7 separate regions of the Homo sapiens genome follow, and regions 1, 2, 3, 4, 5 and 7 are each linked to region 6. The links are contacts of gene promoters, found by promoter capture Hi-C in blood cells and fetal thymus (Javierre and others, 2016). All regions are on one chromosome and are shown on one strand. Each heading gives the region's core, a stretch centred on a gene start or on the middle of the fragment in contact. The rest is flanking DNA. Distances are from core to core; before and after follow the strand shown. Region 1 overlaps B3GALNT2 (beta-1,3-N-acetylgalactosaminyltransferase 2). Region 2 overlaps ARID4B (AT-rich interaction domain 4B). Region 3 overlaps ARID4B (AT-rich interaction domain 4B). Region 4 overlaps B3GALNT2 (beta-1,3-N-acetylgalactosaminyltransferase 2). Region 5 holds the start of TBCE (tubulin folding cofactor E). Region 6 holds the start of TARBP1 (tRNA guanosine 2 -O-methyltransferase TARBP1). Region 7 overlaps ARID4B (AT-rich interaction domain 4B).

Region 1 (3,929 bases), core at 1,414-3,913, 990 kb before region 6:
TTGTATATCTATCTTCTAAATGTTCCATAATAAACATATATTAGCTTTATATAATAGAAAGAAAAAATAAACTTTTAGCAATTAAAAAAATTCTCTCCTGTTGTACAAAATTCTATTTGTGTTGAAAATATGTTTAATTTTAAATCCTTTTTTTTACTGCATCAAGGCTGATTGGGTTTGTTTGCTCGGAAGAATGATAGTGATTGTTTGCTGGCATATCATCAGCAAAGAGTAACAGAAGAGAAGTAGGTAGTGTATTCCATTTGCGAGAGGAAGTTCATCATCGTATTCCCTCCACACTTGGTGATTGCCTGGAGTCACATGTCCCCAGTATAGCTTGTCCAGTAAGCAGGTCGCCTGTAAGGTTTTCATTGTGTAGCTCACTGAAGCATAAATCTCAGTGGGCGTCACAAGTGATTCTTCACAAGTGAAGACTACTGTGTGTTTCTCTTAAAATATTTATGTTTTGGCTGGGCGTGGTGGCTCACATCTGTAATCCCAGCACTTTGGGAGGCCGAGGCGGGTGGATCATGAGGTCAGGAAATCCAGACCATCCTGGCTAACATGGTGAAACCCCATCTCTACTAAAAATACAAAAAATTAGCCAGGTGTGGTGGCGCATGCCTGTAGTCCCAGCTACCAGAAGGCTGAGGCAGGAGAATCACTTGAACCTGGGAGGCAGAGGTTGTAGTGAGCCAAGATCATACCACTGCACTCCAGCCTGAGTGACAGAGACAGAGCGAGACTCCGTCTCAAAAAAAAAAAAAAAAAAAAAAATATATATATATATATATATATATATATATATATATATGTCTCTAATTTTATGTTGTCCTTAATGGTACAGTTGGAACCTGTAACTAATTTCAGTAAAAAGCAGACTATTTTTGTTCACCTAAGTCACTAGCGACGTTATTGTTAGCATTATGGACGCTTACATCCTTAGACAGAATTTCACTCCTGTTGCCCAGGCTGGAGTGCAATGGCTCAATCTTGGCTCACTGCAACCTCCACCTCCCAGGTTCAAATGATTCTCCTGCCTCAGCCTCCTGAATAGCTGGGATTACGAGTGCCTGCCACCACACCTGGCTAATTTTTTTTATTTTTAATACAGACAGGGTTTCACCATGTTGGCCAGGCTGGTTTTGAACTCCTGACCTCAGGTGATCCACCCACCTCGGCCTCCCAAAGTGCTGGGATTACAGGTGTGAGCCACCGTGCCCAGCCTATATCCTTATTTTTTGTGAAGGTTGAAATTCTTTATATATAGTCATTTCTCCAATCCACAAGAAGTTGTTAATGTTTATAGGCACAGAAGTACTGTATATATTTAAGCTACTCTGTTGTTTGGATGAGAAATTAGAAGCTTTATGGAAAAGAGTTGATGCGTGAAAGGAGTTACAGACAGCTTGCTTATGTTATGGGAGAGATAGATATGATATCTCATTTTTCCAACCTGTATCATGCTATTTTTTCCCAACTTTTATTTTGGTTTTTATGATCTTAGTAAGGGAATTGCCATAAACAAGTTGTTTTGGATCTTAAGAGATACCTGGCTTCATAATTGCCTTACATCAGAATAAAAAGTAGGTGTATGAGAGCAGAGGTGAGGAATAGAAATTAAACTGTGTTGTGGAGCAGAAACAGGTTTAGGAGATAGGTGGAAGATAAAGCTTCTTCCTTGCTTAGTAACAAAACAGCTGATGGGTTATTTAAGTTCCATGAGTAAGTCAAGATGATTTGGGAGGACTAGGGAATTTTTCTGGTAACACATTCAATTATTCATTGAATTTGTTTGTTGTATCATAGCCTAGTCACAGACAAAATGGAGTTGGGTGCCAGGAAGGACCCACTGTGAAATAGCATGTCACATGTCATGTCAATTGAATGGACAGTACAGAGAATTACTCGTTTTATCATCATCTTTTCTAGATTTGTAGTTTCAAGGTGAGGATTTTTATCTGGTCACTATAGTTTTTACTTTTGGTATGATTCATTATTTCCTTTTTGCTTTCCTCTTAAATATTAATCATTAGGATTTGCTACCTAGCCTTCTGTTTTATTTTACTCATTCTTCCCAGGCAATTTCATTCATTACTGCCTGTATGCTGAAGGCTGTTAAATCTATAATTACAGCCCCAGCATCTCTTGTGAACTCCAGACATGCTTTGAGTTGCCTCCTGAACTTCTCCACTTGAATGTCCCATGGGCATTCTAATGGTAACATTGTCTCCATCCCATCTGTTCTCATCGCCTGTATTTTTAATCTTGGGTAACCATCTCCTTTTCCTCAAGTCACCTAAACCAGAATCATGAGAGTTATCGTCACTCTCATGTCCAGGTACTCACCAAGTCCTATCAGTTCCTTATCCTAAGTATATATGCTATCAATCCTTCCAAACTCTATCACTATTAAAGTTTTAGAAGAAAATACATTAGCTGAATACAGAGCGATAAACTGCCTGAGGAATCCGGACTCTTGGAATATTTTTATCTGTTTTGGAGGAGGAAAAAAATATTATTTATTTTAAAAAAGGAAAGAAAGGAAGGGAAAGGTTGGGCGGTGGCTCACGCCCGTAATCCTAGCACTTTGGGAGGCTGAGGCAGGCAGATCACTAGGTCAGGAGTTCAAGACCAGCCTGGCCAACATGGTGAAACCCCATCTCTACTGAAAATACAAAAATTAGCTAGGCATGGTGGCACATTCCTGTAATCCCAGCTACTTGGGAGGCTGAGGCAGGAGAATCACTTGAACCAGGACCTGGGAGGTGGGGTTTGCAGTGAGCAGAGATCACGCCACTGCACTCCAGCCTGGGCTACAGAGTGAGACTCCGTCTCAAAAAAATAAAAATAAAAAAAAAGAAAAAGTTTATATCACTCTGTGCAGAGGGAAAAAAATGTTTATAAACCACTGACCTAGCTTATCAAATTGAATTTTGTATGGTTTCCCTATACTGCTGGCTAAAATGAGACATTATTGTAAAGTACTTTATCCCTTCATTTTAACATGAAAGTTTTTAGAGTATTAGAGGTATATCTTTCATTTAATCCTCTATACTATAGTCAATTCTGGTTGATTTTTAGTTCAACATTATTTATTCAGCAAACATTTTGAGTTGTCAGTCATGTCAGGCCAGGCTCGATGCTGGGGATGCAGTGGTTGATCAGGCAAGCTCCTTCCTGTTCTCAAGGTGTTTGTCTTCTAGTAGAGGCAGTTAGTTTAATAATAAAATAAAATAAGAAATATCAGAGTGATAAATGGTATTAATAAGATAAAACAGGTTGATGTGATAGAAGTTGGGAGTTGGAGCCTTCTGGAGGACATCTGGAGAAAGCCTCTCGGAGGAGAAGGTAGTGGAGCTGAGACCTGAGCAGGACTAAGGAGCCAGCTGTGCACAGAATTAAAAATGGGATCATGGAGAAATTAGAAGACATTAAGATTTCAATATATATCAGACCTTGGGACAGGGGGGCATAGCTCTCTCAGCTCAGAATTTAATAGTAATAATCACAAAGGAAAAGTTTGTCAGATTTGCCAAGGTGAAATTTATGGACTTCTGAATTTCAAAAATAGCATTAAGTAGCAAATGAAAAACTATTTTAGCATATAAAATGTGCACAGGATTAAGATAATTACTTTATTAAAAGCTTGCATAGATGAACAAGAAAAATAGAAAACTCAGAGGGCAGATGGCAAAGCAGCATGATAAGGCAGTCCTCAGAAGAGAACATGCAATTCATAAACATCACTAGGAATCAGAAATCCAACTAAGCCAATCTTTTTTTTTTTTTTTTAAATTCAGGCAGGGCGCCGTGGCTCATGCCTGTAATCCCAGCACTTTGGGAGGCCAGGGTGGGCAGATCACTTGAGGTCAGGAGTTCCAGACCAGCCTGGCCAACATGGCGAAACCCTGTCTCTACTAAATATC
Region 2 (3,892 bases), core at 1,122-3,621, 750 kb before region 6:
TTAAAAGGTGGTTTGTCCTGATTGTAGTGATGAGATTGCTGTAAAAAAGGACAATATTCTTGTTCGATCTTTCAAAGATGGAAAATTGTAAGTATAATTTACTTGGTTTGAAAAACCAGTTTATAAATATATGCTGTTATTTTGAATTAGGATGTTAAATGATTAATTAGTTATTTCCAATTACCTTAGGCTTTTATTTTTCATCATACAGAATGTTTCAAAGAGTCACTGTTTTTCATATTATCTTAATGTGTTGTAGTCTTATAGTATGTTTTTCCTTACTAATTTTGGTAATCTTTTCCAAACTAGACACTCAGTACTGTCTAATTTGTCAACACTTGTCCACATAATAGCTGGTTATTTGAGGCAAATTTGCCATATCTAATGTATTTAATACTTTATTGATTTTTTTGTTTTTTTTGAGACGGAGTCTCACTCTGTCACCCAGGCTGGAGTGCAGTGGTGCAGTTTCGGCTCACTGCAACCTCTGCCTCCTGGGTTCAAGCTATTCTCCTGCCTCAGCCTCCTGAGTAGCTGGGACTATAGGTGCATGCCACCGCACCCAGCTAATTTTTATATTTTTAATAGAGACGGGGATTCACTGTGTTGTCCAGGCTGGTCTCGAACTCCTGATCTCGTGATCTGCCCGCCTCGAACCCCAAAGTGCTGGGATTATAGGCGTGAGCCATCGCGCCCGGCCTATTGATGTATTTATTGACATTATTTCCTTAGGGTTTGTTCTTGATGGTCTAATTAGGAATTTCCAATACTTCTACTAGTTATGTCTAATGGTTATAGTGATACCTGTTGGATAATACTCAACTTTTGCAGTAGTCTGAGGATTAAAATGGGTTACTTGTATATGGATGGTAAGTGTTAAGAAAATGATTTGTTAATTTTTCTTTAAGAATTATATGACTAGAGAAGCCAGATATTTTATACAGAATTGTATTGGGTATAAATACCTTAAAAAGGTCATCATGTTTTAAGATTTGATGTTTGAATTTTCAAGTTCGGGAAAGGTATTTTTATTTTTAATTATTTTATTTTACTTTATTTCATTTTTTTGGTGAGGGTCTCACTCTTTCACCCAGGCTGGAGTGCAGTGACATGATCATGGCTCACTGCAGCCATGACCCTTTGGGCTCAGGTTATCCTTTCACCTCAATTTCTCTTGAGTAGCTGGGACTACACCTGGCTATTTTTGTATTTTTTGTAGTGATAAGGTTTCACCATGTTGGCCAGGCTGGTCTCGAACTCCTCAGCTCAAGCGATCCAAATGCCCTGGCCTCCCAAAATGCTGAGATTACAGGCGTGAGCCTCTGCACCCAGTCTGAAAAGTTAGCTTCAAAAACAGTATGTAGGCTGGGCGCGGTGGCTCACGCCTGTAATCCCAGCACTTTGGGAGGCCTAGGCAGGTGGGATCATGAGGTCAGGAGTGCAAGACCAGCCTGGCTAACATGGCAAAACTCCGTCTCTACTAAAAATACAAAAATTAGCCAGGCATGGTGGTGGGCGCCTGTAATTCCAGCTACTAGGGAGGCTGAGGCAGGAGAATCGCTTGAACCTGGGAGATGGAGGGTGCCGTGAGCAGAAATAATGCCATTGCACTCCAGCCTGGGTGACAACAACAAGATTCCATCTCAAAACAAAACAAAACAAAACAAAAAAAAATGTAGAACCAACTTTAACAAAATTGGGATAATCAGAGGAATTTGAGCACAGAAATTGAATATTGACTTAATATTAAATTGTTGGGGGGTAAGGAAAATGGGAAAACGTTAGTAAAACGGCACAAACTTTTATTGGTAAGATGAATAAAATGTACAGGATCTGATGTACAGTGTGGTAACTAGTATTCTGGCAGCCTCCCAAGTAGCTAGCACTACAGGTGTGTGCCACCACGCTCGGCAAATTTTTGTAGGGTTTTTTTTTTTTGCCATGTTGCCCAGGCTGGTCTTGAACTCCTGAGTTCAAGTGATCTGCCCACTTTGGCCCCCAAAGTGTTGGGATTACAGTTGTCAGCCACTGTGTCCAACCTTTATTTATTTATTTATTTTATTTTATTTACTTTTTTTTGAGATGGAGTTTCACTCTTGTTGCCCAGGCTGGAGTGCAATGGCGCAATCTCAGCTCACTGCAACCTCCGCCTCCCAGGTTCAAGCGATTCTCCTGCCTCAGCCTCTCGAGTAGCTGGGACTACAGGCATGCACCACCACACCCAGCTAATTTTTATATTTTTAATAGAGATGGGGTTTCACCATGTTGGTCAGGCTGGTCTTGAACTCCTGACCCCAGGTGATCCACTCGCCTCAGCTTCCCAAAGTGCTGGGATTACAGTTGTGAACCACTGCACTCAGCTCAACCTTTATTTTTTAAGAGATGGGATCTTGCTCTGTTGCCTACGCTAGAGTGCAGTGGCACGATCATAGCTCACTGTAACCCTGCCCTGGGTTTTTTCCAGTCAGCTCCCTGCCTCAGACTCCCAAGTAGCTGGGACTACAGGCACATGCCACCACTCCTGGCTAATTCTTTGCTTACTTTTTTAGTTTGTCTGTGGAGACTGGGTCTCGCTATATTACCTATCCTGGTCTTGAACTTTGGCATGAAGCAGTCCTCCCACCTTGACCTCCCAAAGTGTTGGGATTACAGGCATGAATCACCATGGCTGGCCCCAAACATTTTATCATTATATTGCCATAAATCGTTTTTGGCCGGGTGTGGTGGCTCATGCCTATAATCCCAGTACTTTGGGAGACTGAGGTGGGTGGATCAGTTGAGGTTAGGAGTTCAAGACCAACCTGTCCAACATGGTGAAACCCTGTCTCTACTAAAAATACAAAAATTAGCCGGGTGGTAGTGGCATGTGCCTGTAATCCCAGCTACTCGGGAGGTTGAGGCAGAAGAATCGCTTGAGCCTGGGAGGTAGAGGTTGTGGTGAGCCAAGATTGTGCCACTGCACTCCAGTCTGGATGACAGAGTGAGACCCTGTCTCAAAAACAAAACAAAACAAAACAAAAAAAGTTTTCAGTGTTGCATTTGGGCAGGGGACTCTGGTATTTGGGAACACGTTGGTGTTTATAAAATAGCTCTTATGGTAGGATCCTTCTGTAGATGATTACGTATTTTAACATCCTGTCTTGTATGTTATTTCTGACTTGCTACTCTGTGTGCAATCACTTTTATTGTAAACGTCAACATTCCCATATTTTCAGTATCTTTCTGTGATATGTAATCATCTGGATTCTTAATTAATCTCAGTCATATTTTGGGTTTTTTTTCTTCTCTTATAATTAAAAAAAATATATAGTACTTCAGTTCCAAGAAAAGATGTCCATGAAATTACTAGTGACACTGCACCAAAGCCTGATGCTGTTTTAAAGCAAGGTAAGGATAATCTTGGAATAAATTACAAGTACTGTAAAAACTGCTAAAGTGTTTTTGAAGATTAAATTTTTCTTTGCTCTTTAAAATTTTTCTTTAAATTATGTTTTTATGGTTATATTTGGTTCCTTGTGACCTTTATTTTTATAAACCCATGTGTCTTCTGTGTTATAAGTTTCCTTTTCTTTTTTTTTTTTGGAGACAGAGTCTTGCTCTGTCGCCCAGGGTGGAGTGGCGCAATCTCGGCTCACTGCAACCTCTGCCTCCTGGGTTCAAGCAATTCTCTTGCCTCAGCCTCCCGAGTAACTGGGACTACAGGCACACGCCGCCATGCCCGGCTAATTTTTTGTTATTTTAATAGAGCTGGGGTTTCACCGTGTTGCCCAGGCCGGTCTCGAACTCCTGAGCTCAGGCAGTCCACCTGCCTCAGCCTCCCGAAGTGCTAGGATTACAGGTGTGAGCCACTGCGCCCAACCATAGGTTTCCTTTTTTTTTCTGGTTTTTTTTT
Region 3 (3,642 bases), core at 144-2,643, 720 kb before region 6:
TTTTCAGTAGAGACACGGTTTCACCATGTTGGCCAGGCTGGTCTCGAACTCCTGACCTCATGATCTGCCCACCTCTGCCTCGGCCTCCCAAAGTGCTGGGATTACAGGCATGAGCCACTGCGCCCGGCCTAATTTTTATCTTTTTGTTAGAGACGGAGTTTCACCACGTTGGCCAGGCTGGTCTCGAACTCCTGGCCTCGGGTGATCTGCCTGTCTGGGCCTCCCATAGTTCTGGGATTACAGGTGTGAGCCACCGTGCCCGGCCTCCCCACATGAATTTGCTTTTTTTTTTTTTTTTCCCTATTCTTTGAAAATATCCTGTAGAGAAAATAGAAGGAACACTTGGGTAGTATTGTAATGGGTAATTACATATACGGAAGGAACATTTCTTATTTTTAAAAGCAATGATCAGTTATAGTTATTTAATCTTCTGACCATCTTTATTTTTCTTGTAAGATCTATCAGACAACTAAAGTGCTATTTAACGTCTCATTAGGTTTTGAAATACTTGTCTGCCAATATGTTTGTGTCAGTGATCTCAGCTTGTATTTGGTAAGGACATTTGTAATTCGAAAAAGCTTCCCCAACCAAAATTCTCACATGTTATTTTCTCCTTTTCTTCCTCTTCACGCCACTGGTCTCTCACTCTTCACTAAACTTACTCTGAATAGGGCCTGGAATGCCCCCTACCGTTATTTTCGTGTTAGAATCTTTTCCCGGGCAGTCCATTTCCTTCTCTTCTCTAATTCTCCACAGGAGTGCTTTTTGGCAAGCACTGTCTTTCACTTTCATTGTTGGAATTTCTTAACTTGTGAAATAAAGGCCCTGATAAATTTTTAAGATATGCTCTAGTTCTAAAAGTTATTAGTTTTGATAACAGTAACAATATTGTGTAACTGTGTTTTATACAAAGAGCATAATTGGCAAGGTAAAAAAAAATGCAAAAACTTAGTGTCAAAACAAGGGCCTGAATTAAACAAATAAAAGCACTGAGAAAGTAGAATAGAAAGAAGCCAAATAACAGAAGAGTCATAATATTAGCTAATATTTATAGATCTGTTAAGTTAGATCTATAAATATAATGTAATATTATTATACATTATGTTTGCTGTTAGATTACATTATTACTCTATAGTAAGTTTTCAGGGAATTTCTTAAAACCATACAGAGTATTCCATGAGAATTTTTTTTGTTTTGTTTTTTGAGACGGAGTCTTGTTCTGTCACCCAGGCTGGAGTGCAATGGCGCGATCTCGGCTCACTGCAACCTCCGCCTCCCGGGTTGAAGCGATTCTCCAGCCTCAGCCTCCCGAGTAGCTAGGATTACAGGCATGCGCCATCATGCCTGGCTAATTTTTGTGTTTTTGTAGAGACAGGGTTTCACCATATTGGCCAGGCTGGTCTCGAACTCCTGACCTCAGGTGATCTGTCCACCTCAGCCTTCCAAAGTGCTGGGATTACAGGCGTTAGCCACTGCGCCCGGCCCCATGAGAATTTTAAAACAAAAATTTTCCAGAATAGTAAGGCCATACTGTTAATTACAACTATGTATGTAGTTTGTTTCATCTAATTTAAGAATTTATTTTTGTGTGTGTGTCCTGCCTGCTCCAACACACTTTTGACATCTAAACTCAACTACTTAACATTTTTCTGACATCCAGTCCTCTTGTACCATCCTTCTTTTATAATTGAGTAGAAGAGAACATGATTACCATATAGGATTTACAGAGCTTAGGCAGTGGGCCCCAGCCTGTACCATACCAAGCATCCATCATTTTATTATTTATGTGTATGTTCTTGCCACCTTGTTCTTAAGAGAATTTAAACAACATACATTATATCTGAGTAATAAAGGAATCTTCCTTTATCACAGTGGCCTTACCCATGAGGCAGTAACTGTTTTTCCTTGTTTGATGTGTTTGGTGTTGCATGTAAAATATACAAATGTGCAATATCATGCATGTATTCTTAAATTGAAAACTACTATTTTACCCTACTTCAAAATATAATTGATAATAAAACCCAGGTTGAATTGAGTCAGTTTTTTATTGATAGTAAAACATGTCTGGTATAAAACTAGCTACAGAACAGATAGCCTTTGGTTAAGAAAGGTAGAACATGATTATAACTTTGTTTAGCTCACATTAATGTTATGTGCAGCCATCATGAACTGACTTCAGTTTCTCTCATAAAAAATTAGAAAGCTTGTTTTGTTTTCTTTTAAAAACAAAGTTGATATCTTGACTTCTTCTTTCCATAACTCTTCTAATAGAGCAACTTCTAGGAGTTCATACTGAAATCTACAGAGGATGGAGGTGTTTTCTTTTCGTTTCCCACCATGCCCCCGATTTTGGAAGGAAGTAAATTGCTTTCCTAAGCATTATACAATTTTCGATATTAATAGGAAAGGTAAAAGTACTGCTGCAAATATATGGATAGATGCTACAGTGCCAGGTAGAAGTACCAAAAGGAGTGTATTTAGTAGAAGAATACTTACTTTAAAGCTTTTCAAAGTACTTACCATATATTTGTACTTACACCAGTACTTACCATATATTTCTACAAAAAAACCCATATATGGTATGTACCATTATTTTTTATTTTGTTTTTAAATTGTAGTCTTATTTTATACAGAAATAAACTAAGCCTTAGATTGAGAATGAGTTGATCAGGACCACATAACTAGGAAGCAGGGATTATGTTAAGTCTGTCCTAAAGCTCATTCCATTCCCTCTTATTCTTATTACGGCCCTCAGCATCTTCCAGCATATAAACAGAACCCCTTGCATGGGGATGAATCCTCAGCTTTTCTGGCTTTTACTGGCTACAAGCCAGTAGTTTGTACCAGCAGAGTAACTGCCCAGGAGTTTGCTACAGATACTTTCCAGGCCTATGCTAGAGTAAGAATATAATTTATTAGTCAAGTAATGACTCAAGTCATTTACTTCTTGATTTGGGGACTTTGTTACTTCCTTTTAATACCTCTAACAATGAGGACATTTTAATTTAAAAGCTCGTTTTCAGGTGTCCATGTTCTAGAGTTTTGTGTTTTCTATGAGTAATGTATATAACTTTGAACACAAAAAGAGAATGTCAATTAGTTTTTAATGTTTACTTCTTCTAGCTGTTATAATTCTTGAATGAATGAAGAACGAATAAACTGTCATTCTTTTTTTTTTGCTTTAAACAAATAGTTTTATTGCAGTTAATAGTAATTTGCACCCTATGAAATTGTGAAGACCATCAGCATTGAATCAAGAGGCCATCACAGCTGTTGACTCAGCTGTCTGTACATGTAGGGAGCATTTCAGAATACTGAAAAACTTTGCAGAGTAATGTTTTTCTGGTATTTTATGAGCAAGCATTTTTTTTTTCTAGTTGATTTTGCATTATCCATACGTTACAATATGGTGCTTTTCTTTTCTTATTTCTTTTTTTTTTTTTTTTTTGTGAAACAGAGTCTCGCTCTGTCGCCCAGGCTGGAGTGCAGTGGCGCGATCTCAGCTCACTGCAAGCTCCGCTCCTGGGTTCACACGATTCTTCTGCCTCAGCCTCCTGAGTAGCTGGGGCTACAGGCCCCCACCACCACGTCTGGCTAATTTTTTGTATTTTTAGTAGAGATGGGGTTTCACCGTGTTAGCGT
Region 4 (3,649 bases), core at 606-3,105, 970 kb before region 6:
TTAGTGACGCCACTGCATTGGTGTTTGTTTGTTTGGTCGCACTGACTTTCTTATCCCTTTTGTGTCAACAGGACTGTGGAAACAACGAGCTTCAATTTGTTGCTGAAGACAGATGATGACTGTTACATAGACCTCGAAGCTGTATTTAATAGGATTGTCCAAAAGAATCTGGATGGGCCTAATTTTTGGTGGGGAAAGTAAGTTAACCATTCTTAGCCCATTGGCATTCGTGTACCTGATCAAATGTAATTAATAAAGCATAAAATATCTTTTTTTTTTGAAAATGTGGTTGAGATATACAATTTCGTACTAGACTCCTGGGTTTATATATATTTCATTACTCTAGGTCAGTCATGCTGGCTCACATCTGTCATCCCAGAGTTTTGGGAAGGCTGAGGTGGGAGGATCCTTTGAGGCCAAGAGTTCAAAACTAGCCTGGGCAACGTTGCAAGACCCTGTCCCTACAAAAAATTAAAAAGGTGATGTGAGCCTGTAGCCCTTAGCTACTTGAGAGGCTGAGGCAGGGAGACTGCTTGAGCCCAGGAGTTGGAGGCTGCAGTGAGCTATGATTTTGCAACTGCACTCCAGCCTGGGCAACAGAGGGAGACCCTGTCTTAATAATAATAATAAATTTTATATTACTGTACAATTGGAGGAAATTATTTTTTAAATGAAAAGCCTCAGGCTAATGTAGTAAAGGAGGGAAAACAATATGGCTTTTATTCTTATGCCAAAGAAATAAATGGTATTCACATTAGAAGCTACTGTATATTTTGTTAGAGTACGTTTGTGACACGTCTCTGAAACCATTTTCTGTGCTTCCTCAGGAATACAATATGGATTAGTGATTTGGTTTTTTGTTTTCATATATACTAAAACACAGGGTGATCTTCTAGTGCTTTTCATTCAGAAACTCTACAAATGCAACTTTGAGAAAATTTAACATAACCAATCTTTTATCTAAAACAACACTGGATAAATGATAATTCCTTTCCTTAGATTAAGAAAATTTTTTTCTGGAAGGGCAGTGGCTCACGCCTGTAATCCCAGCACTTTGGGAGGCTGAGGAGGGTGGATCACCCAAAGTCAGGAGTTCAAGACCAGCCTGGACAACATGGCAAAACCCTGTCTCTACTAAAAATATAAAAAATTAGCTGGTCATGATGGTGTGCGCCTGTAATCCCAGCTACTCGGGAGGCTGAGGCAGGAGAATTGCTTGAACCCAGGAGGCAGAGGTTGCAGTGAGCCGAGATGGCACCACTACACTCCAGCCTGAGCAACAAGAGCAAAACTCCATCTCAAAAAAAAAGAAATTTTCTTATTTTCTTTCCTCACTTCTACAAGCTTATTCCTTTGTAGTGATGATAAAGGAGTCAAGTTTTAATAGTGGCAGGATATGTGTCAGACTAACACAAGAGGCCACATTATTTTTCATCTCAGTTTCAGACTGAATTGGGCAGTTGACCGAACCGGAAAGTGGCAGGAGTTGGAGTACCCGAGCCCCGCTTACCCTGCCTTTGCATGTGGGTCAGGATATGTGATCTCCAAGGACATCGTCAAGTGGCTGGCAAGCAACTCGGGGAGGTTAAAGACCTATCAGGTAATTAAGAATTTCTTAGCTTGGCGTGGTGGCTCTTGCCAGTAATCACAACACTTTGGGAGGCTAAGGCGGGTAGATCACTTGAGCCCAGGAATTCAAGACCAGCCTGGGTAACATAGCAAGACCCCATCTCTATAATAAAAAATAAAATAAAAACAAAAAATTAAGGATTTCCCACCTACGTATACACTCATCACACCAAGTTTCATCTCACTCGGCATCCCATCATGGAAAGCAGAACCCACTTACCTTGGGGAAAAGCACGTTATTCTCTGTATAGGAATCACCTCTCAAAGGTTAAGGATGCACCCCTACATCCCTCAAATCTTGCCTTTAAATTCTATTCCTAAATCTTTTTTGAGCCTACTTATTATGTTTTCAGCTAGTATTTACAGGTGTCATCCCTGGAGGCTGGGCACTGTGGCTCATGCCTGTAATTGTAGCACTTTCGGACGCCAAGGCAGGCAGATCACGTGAGGTTAGGAGTTCAAAACCAGCCTGGCCAACATGGCAAAACCCTATCTCTACTAAAAATACAAAAAATTAGCTGGGCGCACACCTATATTCCCAACTACTTGGGAGGCTGAGGAGGAGAATCATGTGAACCCGGAGGCGGAGTTTGCAGTGAGCTGAGATTGCGCCACTGCATGCCAGCCTGGGCGACAGAGGGACACTCTGTCTCAAAAAAAAAAAAAGTATAGTCCCTGGAGGAATAGAAAGATTTTTATTCCTAAGGAGGAAGCCCTAAGTGCTTCCTGGAAGCTTAAGGTACATGAGAAGGATGGGTCGTCTGCTCGCGGTTTCATCTTATTACCTTGTGGCAGGGGTGCTTCATATTAAAGACCACTAGCTTTGACTTCATGTGAACCCATTTTTGCTATTTCATATTAGAATAATAACAGAGCAAAAAAGTAGAAAGGTGGTTTATGATGGGAGTGGCTATGGTTTTGTCTTTACAAATAAAATAGCATTAAAATTTTTACATTTAAACTTTATGGGCCATGTATAGGGTGAAGATGTAAGCATGGGCATCTGGATGGCTGCCATAGGACCTAAAAGATACCAGGTAAGTCTTTGGGGATGGCCTCAGGGTTCTTAAGAGTTGAGGAGGTGGATTTCTATATACAGGTTGAGTGTTCTTTATCCAAAATGCCTGGGACCAGAAGTATTTAGGATTTCAGATTTTTTTGGATTTTAGAATAATTGCATTATACTTAGAAGTTGCACATTCCAAATCTGAAAATCTGAAATGCTTCAGTGAGCATTTCCTTTGAGTGTCATGTTGGCTCTCAAAAAGTTTTGGGCTGGGCATAGTGGCACATGCCTGTAATCCCAACACTTTGGGAGGCCAAGGTGGGTGTATCACTTGAGCCCAGGAGTTCAAGACCAGCCTGGGCAACATGGTGAAACCCCCCGTCTCTACAAAAACTACAAAAAAATTAGCTGGGCATGGCAGCGCCTGCCTGTGGTCCCAGCTACTCAGGAGGCTAAGGTAGGAGGATCAACTTGAGCCTGGGAGGTCGAGGGTGCAGGGAGCTGTGAATGCACCACTGCACTCCCACCTGGGCAACAGAGTGAGAGAGACCCTGTCTCAAAAAAAAAAAAAAAGTTTTGGATTTTGGAGCATTTTGGATTTCAAATTTTCAGATTTGGAATGCTCAACCTGTAATGTTTATCACACCATGGGCAGAAAGAATGAGGATCTTCTACCATAATAGTTATGCTGTTGCTTTAATTCACAATAATCCACTAGGTTATTTCTCATACAGTATTTTTCTGAGTTTAAAGCAAAAGGTTATAAATCAACGTTCCCCTGCCTACAAAAAAACTCAGTTTCCATAGATTTGATCAGAAATTATTTGCAGCTTTAAAACTTAACAACAGAAGGCCGAGGCGGGCAGATCATGAGGTCAGGAGATGGAGACCATCCTGGCTAACACGGTGAAACCCCATCTCTACTAAAAATACAAAAAAAATTAGCCAGGCATAGTGGCGGGCGCCTGTGGTCCCAGCTACTCAGAAGGCTGAGGCAGGAGAATGGCATGAACC
Region 5 (3,838 bases), core at 505-3,004, 890 kb before region 6:
TTTGAGAGGAAAGACATAAATCTGATTTTTTTTTAAAGGATCAACCGAGATACTGTGATGCAAACAGACTAAAAGAGGAAAGAGCAGAAACTACTGCAGTAATTCAAGTACGAGACAACGTAACTTGAACAAGTGAAGGTGATAACAAGAGCCTGGGAGTGTGGACAGATTTTAAAGGTGGAGAGTCCATAGGATTTGCTGATATATATGGAAGAGATTAATCAGGGATGATACCAAAGATTTTCATCTAGACAAATATTTCAGTAGTGACAATGAATGTAAATCCAATAAACCTGCTAGTCAAAAGGCAGACTGGGCTGGGCACGGTGGCTCACACCTGTAGCCCCAGCACTTTGGGAGGCTGAAGCAGGTGGATCACCTGAAGTCAGGCCTTCAAAACCAGTCTGGCCAACATGGCGAAACCCCATCTCTACTACAAATACAAAAAAAAAAAAATTAGCTGGGCATGGTGGCACACACCTGTCATCCCAACTACTCGGGAGGCTGAGGTGGGAGATATGCTTGAACCTGGGAGGCGTGGTTGCAGTGAGCTGAGATTGGGCCACTGCACACCAGCCTTGGGCGACAGAGCAAGACTCCATATCAAAAAAAAAAAAAAAAAAAAAAAGCAGGCTGTCCACTTAGATTAAAAAAAAAACCCAGAGATATGCTGTTTACAACAGTATATAAAATATGAGCATACAGAAAAGTTAAAACTTAAGAATATGAAAAACGTTTGAAGCAAGTATCAAAACACAGCGGCCGTGGCTAAATTAATGCCAGAGAAAAGAAAAGTCTTCTCTCTTCATCTCTACCTCCACTAACTTTCTCTAACAGTTTGGCAATTTGTTAACCCCGTCTTCCTGCCAGGACTGCTTCTCTGAGGATAAGGCTGTCACACCATCATTTGGATCCACCCACAACTTAGAACAGTCCCCATTTGGTAGTAAACACCAAGTAAAAATAGTTACTTTAGGCCGGGCGCGGTGGCTCACGCCTGTAATCCCAGCAGTTTGGGAGGCCGAGGCGGGTGGATCATCTGAGATCAGGAGTTCGAGAGCAGCCTGGCCAACATGGAGAAACCCTGTCTCTACTAAAAATACAAAAATTAGCCGAGCGTGGTGGCACGCGCCTGTAATCCCAGCTACTCGGGAGGCTGAGGCAGCAGAATCGCTTGAACCCAGGAGGCGGAGGTTGCAGTAAGCCGAGATCAGAGATCCGCGCCACTGCAGTCCAGCCTGGGCGACAGAGCAAGACTGTCTCAAAAGAACAAACAGTTACTTTAAGTGCTCTCCACCTATTTAACGTTATTTCTCTGTCATCACCAATGTTAACTGATTCGGAAGGACGAGGCTGTTCCTCTAAGGTGACACCTTGTAAAAGTCGTTGGTCGCCTGTACCATTTTCACCTCTTCCAAAGTGACATGCCAATTCTCTGAGAGAAGCTTAAAATGCTAGAGATCACGTGCGGCTACTCCTAAATAAGGCCTTCCAGGAGGCGCAGGGTGGCCCCAACCCAGCCGGCTGGACCGCCTCCCAGCGCACGGAGCAGGCAACGCCCGGCTCTGGCAATCTGGGAAGATTCCAGGAAAGGAAGAAAAGGCCAAGAGCACTGCAGGGTGACGCACCGGCCAGGAATGCTCGTTCCGAAAGCTCCCCGAACCTCTGAAGCTCACCTGCCCGCGGAGACTCCAGGTGTTCCCAGCAGCAGCCCCTCCAGCCAACTGCCCAGCAGCGAAGCTTGAGGCTCTGGCCGGAAGTGCTGTAGGAAGTCCCGCCTCCACCGGAGTGAGGTACGGCTGCTGGAGCATAGACGAGAATGTCAGCGACAGTATTGGAGGCCAGAGGAGTGGTCAGCCCACCCAAGCCCCGCCTCTGGGCGGGGGCCCAAGCGATTTCCGAGTGCTGAAACCTGGGATGACAGAGCAGCCCAGGGAAAGCGCGTGTTCCAGTTTACTAGATACCACAGAAGTGAGTTACAAATCCTGTAAGAGGTTCAGTTCCATGCGTATTGAGAGTCTACCACGTAGGCAGCATGCGGTGGTCAAAGAGAAGAATATAGTGTTGATACCGCCAAAACTAAAAAAAAAAAAAAAATTACCTAGTTAAAGCATAAGGCAGAATGAAAGTAAATGCAGTGATAGAAAAAATAATAGAAAAAGCAACTATCCTAGACATGTTAATTTCTGTTGAAACCGCCTTTGCAAAATTTTGACAGTAAGAGAAATCTGACATGGTTTACTCCTATCTTGATTCTAGCCTCACAGACTGGCTGTCTTTGCTCATTCCTGGGCACAGGACAAACTAACTTTGGGAGAAATTTAGTTTATAGTTTAAATGATAATAACCCTTCCCCAAAACTGCCCTTTTAAAACTAAATGAAAGGCCACCAAGTTAGGAGAATGAGAGGGTCCTGAATTCTTCTAAGTTGTAATTGTAGTTAAATGATTACCACCCATTATTCCACAGGTCACAAATTCGCATCTTCCCCAATCATTCCTGCAGATAACATCACTGTTGTAGAACCTAAGATTGGCCTTTTGAGATGTCTTTTCAGGTTTTTGCATTTCTGACAAGTGGATGGCCCCACCCTGACTCATCAACCTGGGGATCCACGAACCAACTCAGTGCAAGAGGACAGCTTCTACTTCTTATGATTTCACCTCTGACCCAACCAGTCAGCACTCCCCATTCCCTGGCCCCGTACCTGTCAAACTATCTGAAAAACCCCCTAACCTCTGAGCCTTTGGTGAGATGGATTTGAGTAACAACTCTGTCTCCCACGTGGCATGGCCAGCCTCGCGTCAATTAAACTTTCTTTACTGCAATGCCATGGTTTCTGTCAATTAATTTTGTTTGTGCAGCAGGCAGAAAGAACCCATTGGTGGATACCACAGACTCCACAACAAGAGCAGTTTGGGTAGAGTGAGTGTTAGCATTCCAAAACCAGACTGAAGTGAGGTGAAGTGGAAAGGAAATTGAGGGAGCAAAGCCAAATGACTCTTCCAAGAAGTGACCTTCTAATTGTCATATTAAATGGACACAAACAGTCAGTATCCTGCTGGATGTCTCTACTGTTTTATACTTTGATAGTTCACTCCTTGAAACTAGAAACTAGATATTACAGTGATTGTTTTTTCTTTGGAAGAGGGGATTAAAAACCACATTGGAAATCTGATAAAAGCTATCTACCTACACACAAATTTTGCGTATGATTTCAAGGACTGATTAATCCTTTGAAGCCCATGAATAGGCCTCAAAGGAATCCATGGATCCCAAACTAAGACTCTCCTCAGCAGGGCACGGTGGCTCACACCTATAATCCCAGCATTTTGGGAGGCCGAGGCAAGCAGATCACTTGAGCTCAAGAGTTCAAAACTAGCCTGGGCAATGTGGCGAAACCCTGTCTCTAAAAAAACACAAAAATTAGCCAGGCGTGGTGGTAGGTGCCTGTAGTCCCAGCTACTCAGGACGTTGAGTTGGGAGAATCTCTTGAGCAGGGGAGACAGAGGTTGCAGTGAGCTGAGATCTCAACACTGCACTCCAACCTGGGCAATAGAGTGAGACCCTGTTTCAAAAAAGAAAAAAAGGCCAGGCGTGGTGGCTCATGCCTGTAATCCGAGTACTTTGGGAAGCTGAGGCGGGTGGATCACAAGGTCAAGAAATTGAGACCATCCTGGCCAACAGGGTGAAGCCCTGTCTCTACTAAAAATACAAAAATTAGCTGGGCATGGTGCTGTGTGCCTGTAATCACAGCTACTTGGGAGGCTAAGGCAGGAGAATCATTTGAACCTGGGAGGCGGAGGTTGCAGTGAGCCGAGATCGCGCCATGCACTCC
Region 6 (4,037 bases), core at 127-2,626:
GTTGAAGGTAATTGATATTTACTGACATGTTAAAAGGGCTTAAAATAGAAACATTTATGCATTTTGTCAATGAAAAACGGAATGACTGAAATATGAAAAAAGTCTTGCCTGTGTAATGTCAGATAACCTTAAAGTCAGATAACTTTATATAAAAATAACTGTAAATTTAAATAACTAATTTTTGTCTTATCCATTATGTTATTATATGTCAAGCTCTTTGAAGTTGGGACCCTGTTTTCTCTATTGACTAAGAGGCAGATCTTTGTGTTTAGTAGCGAAGAAAACCCTATGTCACTGATCTAGTTTGTCTCAAATTGAGCCAGGAACCAAATCCACACCATGCATGCCGAGGTGAGGTTTTCTGTTTCTCTATTTAGCAATGGATGCTGTCAGAAATACAGAAAAGACAGACACAGGGACTATTTTTGAGTTTGCACATGGGAGCACATGCATTGTGCAGGAGGCTCTGCATCCTGGAGTCATCTTGGGCACTTGGCTGTGAGGGCTGGCGTGGGCATCTTGGTTTTAGCTGAATCCTAGCACATTGCTATAGGTACCTCTAAGGCAGGAGAATAGGGCCTGGAGGCAGGGAATCCAAAAACTCCCTAGAACCAAATCAGATAGAAACACTTCAGCTATGACAGGAAATATCCTCTTCATTTACATAGGGAGTACACCAAGTAAATAACTTTGTAACTTCATTTTATCCTCTTCAGTTACATAGTGTGTACACCAAGTAACCAATTGAAACCTCTATAGGTATTTAAACCCCAGAAAATTCTGTAACCAGCCCCCCTTGAGCGGCTTGCTTGGGTCTGCCCCCACCCTGTGGAGTGTACTTTTGCAATAAATCTCTGCTTTTGTGGCTTCATTCTGTCTTTGCTTTGTTTGTGCGCTTTGTCCAATTCTTGGACCTGGACACCCTCCACCGGTAACACTTCTCACTCCTGGCCTTACGTCTAAATCATTCTTGTGTTTTCATGACTTATTTTTAATGCAGATGTCCAGAACCAATTTCAGACCTACTGTGTCAGTCTCTTTGTGGATGGTGCCCATCATGCAACGTTTGGAAAATAATCTAAAGTGATTCTGCTGTGCACCTTCTGTGAACTGGTTTATGCTCACAGGCACGCCTGATTTAGGGTCCTGGGCAGACCAACCTCCAATCAGGAATCGATGAAGCTGGTGTAGATACTACATTAACTTTTAACGAAGGCCTCGTTTCTCCTAAAAATAAGAGACCAGGTGGGTTCTATCTAGGCAGGGTTGGTGGCAGGAACCCAAGGGAAGCTGAGCTGCACCAAGCCGGGCTGGGATCCCCCTCTCTGCGGCCGCGCGCCCGGCTCCGTCGGCGCACGCGCACGTAGGGGCCGGCCGGTCCTGTGCGCACGCATCGCACACGCCGGCGCCTTCCTTTGGGAGCCCGGGCCGGTGGCGCGGGCGCTCGGCAAATGGAGTGGGTGCTCGCGGAAGCGCTGCTCTCGCAGAGCCGGGACCCCCGGGCCCTGCTTGGGGCGCTGTGCCAAGGGGAGGCATCCGCGGAGCGCGTGGAGACGCTGCGCTTCCTTCTGCAGCGGCTCGAGGACGAGGAGGCGCGCGGCAGCGGGGGCGCAGGCGCGCTCCCGGAGGCGGCGCGCGAGGTGGCTGCAGGGTACCTCGTGCCACTGCTGCGGAGCCTGCGCGGACGCCCCGCGGGCGGCCCGGACCCCAGTCTGCAGCCTCGCCACCGCCGGCGCGTGCTGAGGGCGGCGGGCGCGGCCCTGCGCTCGTGCGTCCGCCTGGCCGGGCGTCCGCAGCTGGCGGCCGCGCTGGCTGAGGAGGCGCTGCGCGATCTGCTCGCCGGGTGGCGCGCGCCTGGCGCCGAGGCTGCCGTGGAAGTGCTAGCAGCCGTCGGGCCATGTTTGCGGCCCCGCGAGGACGGGCCGCTACTGGAGCGCGTGGCGGGGACCGCCGTCGCCCTGGCGCTGGGCGGGGGCGGGGACGGGGATGAGGCCGGGCCTGCCGAGGACGCGGCGGCGCTGGTGGCCGGGCGACTGCTGCCAGTGCTGGTCCAATGTGGCGGGGCGGCGCTGCGGGCCGTGTGGGGCGGGCTGGCCGCGCCTGGGGCGTCCCTGGGGTCCGGCCGCGTAGAGGAGAAGCTGCTGGTCCTGAGCGCCCTGGCCGAGAAGCTGTTGCCCGAGCCCGGCGGCGACCGCGCCCGCGGCGCGCGCGAGGCGGGCCCGGACGCCCGGCGCTGCTGGCGCTTCTGGAGGACGGTGCAGGCGGGGCTGGGCCAGGCGGACGCCCTGACGCGCAAGCGAGCGCGCTACCTGCTGCAGAGGGCGGTGGAGGTGTCGGCGGAGCTGGGGGCCGACTGCACCTGCGGGCCCCAGGAAGGAAACGGTACCTGCCTCTTTGCCCCCCAGCCTAGTGCTACCTACTTGGCTGCCCCAGAGGGGAGTCTTCCTGCTTCTAAAAACTAGCTTATCGGGGTCGTCACTCCGATCCATGCAGAATTTGGTTATTCCGCGTTGCTCCCCTAAAGCCTGAAAACCTTTGGAACCCCTTCTCGAGGGTGTTCTTTGAAGTCACAAATCACTGCGGTTGGGAACGTTCTAACCCAGAGCCGGTGGAATACAGCACCCCTGGAATAGTTTAGGAAGATAATGGAGCCCGTGCAAGATTTTACAGACCCAAATCTGCACTATATCATGGTAGATTCAACCCAATAGAAACGGTTGATATCTATCAAGTTGAAAGAAAAATTATTTGTTATTTATCTGTACTGACCAGTGAATTAGTGAATTGAGTGTTGAGTGTTAGAATTAAGCGTCATAGAGGCCATCACACTCTTCTGAAATTTCCCCTGGTAATTAGGAACAGGATTTACTAATATTTGTTAAACATGTTTCTTAAGTCGACCTTTTGAGTGTATTTTTGCCATTGATTTAATAGAATGAATCAGATTTTATTTTTTAACTGTTTGAGCTTTGCTCCCTACTATGTGCAAGAGTAATGAAACAGCAAGGCCTCCCTTCAAGTTGTTACGTTACTGTTGATTGGTTTGACTTCACTCATGTTAAATTTGGGTTTAAACTGTCAAGTACAAAGTAGATTGACTCAAAATTGTCTCAATAGAATATTTCTACTTTTTCAACGGTAGCTGACCATTTATTACAGGTAAAGGATTTTTGTTTGGCTGAAGTTATGAGGTTATATTTTCAAGTAATTTTAAAACATTAGAGAGTAAATATTTGAACAGTCCACAGATAGGTGTGATCATCCCTGAGAGTTTTCACTGGAAAACATTTTTTAAATCATCAAAAATTAAAACATTCATTTATTTACATGAGTCTGTTATTTTGCAGTTTTGTTTGTTTGTTTGTTTGTTTTATGGAGTTTCGGTCTTGTTGCCCAGGCTGGAATGCAATGGCACAATCTCCGCTCACCGCAACCTGCACTTCCCGGGTTCAAGCGGTTCTCCTGCCTCAGCCTCCAGAGTAGCTGGGATTACAGGCATGCGCCACCATGCCCCACTAATTTTGTATTTTTAATAGAGACGGGGTTTCACCGTGTTGGTCAGGCTGGCCTCAAACTCCTCACCTCAGGTGATCTGCCCGCCTTGGCCTCCCAAAGCGCTGGGATTACAGGCGTGAGCCACCGCGCTCGGCCAGTTATTTTGCAGTTTTAGGGATAAGCAATGGTGCTTCCATGCTTCCTGCAACTCCCATTTCCTCTGTTACAGAAAGCAAATCCTGTGGCCTCTTAACGGAATATTAGGGGATTTACCCCTATGTCTTGACATAGTATATCTTAGTTATATCATAAAATATATTGTCACAGTTAAAATTTTGGTTAAATGTGTGTTCAGCATTTATAAAATTATGACTGTAAATGCTGCTTGCAGGTGATCTATGTAGGAAACTGATCATTTTTCTCTTCCTGCAAGTTTTTCATATGATTTTGACGTTTTAAAATGTGTTCGGTTCTTTCTATACTTACCACGAATTCCTCCTTAAATTCTTAACCAGTTGACTAAATCTTTCCTCTACAAAATC
Region 7 (3,609 bases), core at 391-2,890, 700 kb before region 6:
TTTGACCAACAACAGAAATGATCTTATTTCAAAGGAGGAACAGAACAGTTCATCTTTGCTAGAAGAAAACAAAGTTCATGCAGATTTGGTAATATCCAAACCAGTGTCAAAATCTCCAGAAAGATTAAGGAAAGATATAGAAGTATTATCCGAAGATACTGATTATGAAGAAGATGAAGTCACAAAAAAGAGAAAGGATGTCAAGAAGGACACAACAGATAAATCTTCAAAACCACAAATAAAACGTGGTAAAAGAAGGTATTGCAATACAGAAGAGTGTCTAAAAACTGGATCACCTGGCAAAAAGGAAGAGAAGGCCAAGAACAAAGAATCACTTTGCATGGAAAACAGTAGCAACAGCTCTTCAGATGAAGATGAAGAAGAAACAAAAGCAAAGATGACACCAACTAAGAAATACAATGGTTTGGAGGAAAAAAGAAAATCTCTACGGACAACTGGTTTCTATTCAGGATTTTCAGAAGTGGCAGAAAAAAGGATTAAACTTTTAAATAACTCTGATGAAAGACTTCAAAACAGCAGGGCCAAAGATCGAAAAGATGTCTGGTCAAGTATTCAGGGACAGTGGCCTAAAAAAACGCTGAAAGAGCTTTTTTCAGACTCTGATACTGAGGCTGCAGCTTCCCCACCGCATCCTGCCCCAGAGGAGGGGGTGGCAGAGGAGTCACTGCAGACTGTGGCTGAAGAGGAGAGTTGTTCACCCAGTGTAGAACTAGAAAAACCACCTCCAGTCAATGTCGATAGTAAACCCATTGAAGAAAAAACAGTAGAGGTCAATGACAGAAAAGCAGAATTTCCAAGTAGTGGCAGTAATTCAGTGCTAAATACCCCTCCTACTACACCTGAATCGCCTTCATCAGTCACTGTAACAGAAGGCAGCCGGCAGCAGTCTTCTGTAACAGTATCAGAACCACTGGCTCCAAACCAAGAAGAGGTTCGAAGTATCAAGAGTGAAACTGATAGCACAATTGAGGTGGATAGTGTTGCTGGGGAGCTCCAAGACCTCCAGTCTGAAGGGAATAGCTCGCCAGCAGGTTTTGATGCCAGTGTGAGCTCAAGCAGTAGTAATCAGCCAGAACCAGAACATCCTGAAAAAGGTGAGAAGGAAAATGTGTATGTTGACTTATTTTAGGGTTTCCCCTCTTAAAGTTTCAATGATTTCACAGTATCTCTTGTTATAACCTGAGGCGATTAAGTGTCATATTTGTGTGAACATGGTAAAAATGGAAATTTTAAAGGTAATTTGAAAATGAATAGTGGAATGCATTTAAAAGCTTGAGAAGGCTTTAATGTGCTTTGCTTGAGCCATCCATGGCATTTTATTGTGGACCAGAACACATGCTAGAAATTGCACCCAGGCCCAAATCCAAACCTGTTTGAGAATTCATTATATGCAGTGGTTGACTATATGGCATGAGCAGCTTAAATCTATTTCTGTAACATTGTTTTTGCAATTGTAATGTGCAGTTTCTCACGAACATTTTGATTTATTGACAGACCCCTCCACCCTTAACCAAATACTGTATGTAGGGGTTTGGAGCAACCAACTGTCCAGGCACTGCTTTCCTCAGACAACCGTGTCAAACTGATTTTCAAGCCTGACTAACTTGTGTGAGTTTGTAAAGGAATTTGATGCTTTCTTAGATGCATAGCTTCCAAATTGAAGGACCAATGTGTACGTTAATAACCTACAGTAATACTTTTTTGATTTTCCGTGAAATTGTTAAAAGTGGAAATTCAAATCGGTACCTTCCCAAAGTATTAGTGCCTTTCGATGGTGCCATAGCCATACTTCTGTCATCATTTTTCTTATAAACCACTTCATTCAGGTATCTTTAAATCAGTATACTCTAGGCTGACACCTGGCTTTGGAACACACTTTTCCATCGTAAAGACAGAGCACTGGAGTATGTTTTTTATATACCGTAAAAGATTTTAGAATGCTAGCTTTAGGTTTTCAGCAAAGCTTAAAGAGATATGGTCTAGATCAAATTAGTTAATTCTATGTTTTCTCAGGAATCTTGACTTAAAACATTTCTGTTTTAAAATAAATTAAAAAAATACTTGCAATTAAATTGAAATGTTCTTTGCTTTTTTTCACATTTACAAGTATAACTACTATGATTTTATCTGTGCCATACTATCTCATGCAACTGAACTATCCAGGCATGACTAATCTTCAAAATGAAAGAATCCTTTATTTCAGAATATTAGGCTTTCAACAGTAAGATTTTACTGGCCAGGTGTGGTCACTCACACCTGTAATCCCAGCAATTTGGGAGGTCTGGGAGGTCAAGGCGGTGGATCGCTTGAGTCCAGGAGTTCAAGACCAGCCTGGACAACATGGCAAAACCCCATCTCTACCAAAAATACAAACGTCAGCCAGCTGTGGTGGCGCATGCCTGTAGTCCCAGCTACCTTGGGGGCTGATGAGGGAGAATCACTTGATCCCGGAAAGGCTGCAGTGAGCCAAGATCACGCCACTGCACTCCAGCCTGGGTGATAAAACAAGACCCTGTCTCAAAAAAAAAAAAAAAAAAAAAAGAAAAAACAAGAAAAGAAAGAAAAAAACAGGTTTTATTGTTATAGGTTTTCTTGGGGGTTTTTTTTTTGAGATGGAGTCTCGCTCTGTTGCCCAGGCTGGAGTGCAGTGGTGTGATCTGGGCTCACTGCAACCTCCGTCTCCTGGGTTCAAGTGATTCCCCTGCCTCAGCCTGCTGAGTAGCTGGGACTACAGGCGTGTGCCACCATGCCCAGCTAATTTTTTGTATTTTTAGTAGAGATGGCATTTCGCCATGTTAGCCAGGATGGTCTCTATCTCTTGACCTCATGATCTGCCTGCCTTGGCCTCCCAAAGTGCTAGGATTACAGGCATGAGCCACCGTGCCTAGCCTATTGTTGTAGTTTTTAAGAGGTTGTATCCTTATTATGTTCGTAATATCTTACAAAAGATTAAAATTAACAACAAAAAAAAAGAGGATATCTTCTCTGCTAATAGACTAAGTCAACACTGCCCTTTTGAATCTTAATCTTGACTAGGTTAATAATTGTGGAATTTGAAAGCTACTCCTAAATTTAGGGTAATTTATATCTCTTTAGAAATAATTGGTGTTTTTCTTTTTGTTGGGTTTTTTTTTTTTTTTTTTTTTTTTTTTTGAGACATAGAGTTTTGCTCTTGTTGCCCAGGCTGGAGTGCAGTGGTGCAATCTTGGTTCACTGCAACCTCCACCTCTCAGGTTCAAGAGATTCTCCTGCCTCAGCCTGCTGAGTATCTGGGATTAACGCCCGGCTAATTTTTGTATTTTGTTTAGTAGAGATGGGGTTTCGCCATGTTGGCCAGGCTGGTCTACGAACTCCTGACCTCAGGTAATCCACCTACCTTGGCCTCCCAAAGTGCTGGAATTACAGGCATGAGCCACCGCGCCCAGCCAGAAATAGGTTCTTAAGCACCTGTTTCACATGGCCACATTTTAATAAATTTACTTACTATGAATATTGGAGACTCCCCACTATATCACAAGTTAAAATTTAAGTTTTACTATTTAGATGTAGTTTTTTCCTCTTAATTTACTCTACATTGAAGGTTTTTAT

What was found. The method cuts DNA at HindIII sites, captures the fragments that hold promoters and counts their contacts. A CHiCAGO score of 5 or more calls a contact.
Region 1: a contact is called between a fragment that was not itself captured here and the fragment with the promoter of TARBP1 in region 6, in 1 of 17 cell types (activated CD4 T cells). The highest score is 9.0, in activated CD4 T cells.
Region 2: a contact is called between a fragment that was not itself captured here and the fragment with the promoter of TARBP1 in region 6, in 2 of 17 cell types (naive CD4 T cells and naive B cells). The highest score is 7.4, in naive CD4 T cells.
Region 3: a fragment that was not itself captured here is called in contact with the fragment with the promoter of TARBP1 in region 6 in 6 of 17 cell types (erythroblasts, naive B cells, naive CD8 T cells and 3 more); the score reaches 9.3 in erythroblasts.
Region 4: a fragment that was not itself captured here is called in contact with the fragment with the promoter of TARBP1 in region 6 in 1 of 17 cell types (activated CD4 T cells); the score reaches 7.2 in activated CD4 T cells.
Region 5: the fragment with the promoter of TBCE here is called in contact with the fragment with the promoter of TARBP1 in region 6 in 5 of 17 cell types (neutrophils, total CD4 T cells, naive CD8 T cells and 2 more); the score reaches 7.6 in neutrophils.
Region 7: a fragment that was not itself captured here is called in contact with the fragment with the promoter of TARBP1 in region 6 in 4 of 17 cell types (activated CD4 T cells, erythroblasts, non-activated CD4 T cells and 1 more); the score reaches 10.1 in activated CD4 T cells.

The regions. Positions count from the first base shown.
Region 1 is chr1:235,471,836-235,475,764 of GRCh38, reverse strand. The region is part of intron 5 of B3GALNT2 (beta-1,3-N-acetylgalactosaminyltransferase 2); the gene reads left to right. Among named protein-coding and RNA genes, the nearest start is that of B3GALNT2, 31 kb to the left of the region's middle. The HindIII fragment of the contact is 1,975 bases long and covers 1,676-3,650 here.
Region 2 is chr1:235,230,608-235,234,499 of GRCh38, reverse strand. It overlaps ARID4B (AT-rich interaction domain 4B), which reads left to right. Exons shown (of 24, transcript NM_016374.6): 9 at 8-87; 10 at 3,311-3,387. Among named protein-coding and RNA genes, the nearest start is that of MIR4753, 42 kb to the right of the region's middle. The HindIII fragment of the contact is 4,902 bases long and covers 1-3,892 here.
Region 3 is chr1:235,196,660-235,200,301 of GRCh38, reverse strand. All of the region lies in intron 17 of ARID4B (AT-rich interaction domain 4B), which reads left to right. Among named protein-coding and RNA genes, the nearest start is that of MIR4753, 8.4 kb to the right of the region's middle. The HindIII fragment of the contact is 1,625 bases long and covers 581-2,205 here.
Region 4 is chr1:235,452,107-235,455,755 of GRCh38, reverse strand. It overlaps B3GALNT2 (beta-1,3-N-acetylgalactosaminyltransferase 2), which reads left to right. Exons shown (of 12, transcript NM_152490.5): 9 at 72-197; 10 at 1,441-1,600; 11 at 2,610-2,666. It overlaps TBCE (tubulin folding cofactor E), which reads right to left. Exons shown (of 17, transcript NM_003193.5): 17 at 3,313-3,649. Among named protein-coding and RNA genes, the nearest start is that of B3GALNT2, 51 kb to the left of the region's middle. The HindIII fragment of the contact is 1,018 bases long and covers 1,347-2,364 here.
Region 5 is chr1:235,365,343-235,369,180 of GRCh38, reverse strand. It overlaps TBCE (tubulin folding cofactor E), which reads right to left and starts at 1,754. Exons shown (of 17, transcript NM_003193.5): 1 at 1,677-1,754. It overlaps LOC124904559 (a long non-coding RNA gene), which reads left to right and starts at 1,761. Exons shown (of 2, transcript XR_007066957.1): 1 at 1,761-1,971; 2 at 2,558-2,828. RefSeq lists enhancers at 1,455-1,794, 1,334-2,047. The HindIII fragment of the contact is 3,498 bases long and covers 1,743-3,838 here.
Region 6 is chr1:234,476,518-234,480,554 of GRCh38, reverse strand. TARBP1 (tRNA guanosine 2 -O-methyltransferase TARBP1) reads left to right here and starts at 1,376. Exons shown (of 30, transcript NM_005646.4): 1 at 1,376-2,382. The coding sequence starts at 1,452. RefSeq lists silencers at 1,260-1,449, 1,480-2,279. The HindIII fragment of the contact is 13,603 bases long and covers 1-4,037 here.
Region 7 is chr1:235,179,091-235,182,699 of GRCh38, reverse strand. ARID4B (AT-rich interaction domain 4B) reads left to right here. Exons shown (of 24, transcript NM_016374.6): 20 at 1-1,115. Among named protein-coding and RNA genes, the nearest start is that of MIR4753, 9.2 kb to the left of the region's middle. The HindIII fragment of the contact is 692 bases long and covers 1,295-1,986 here.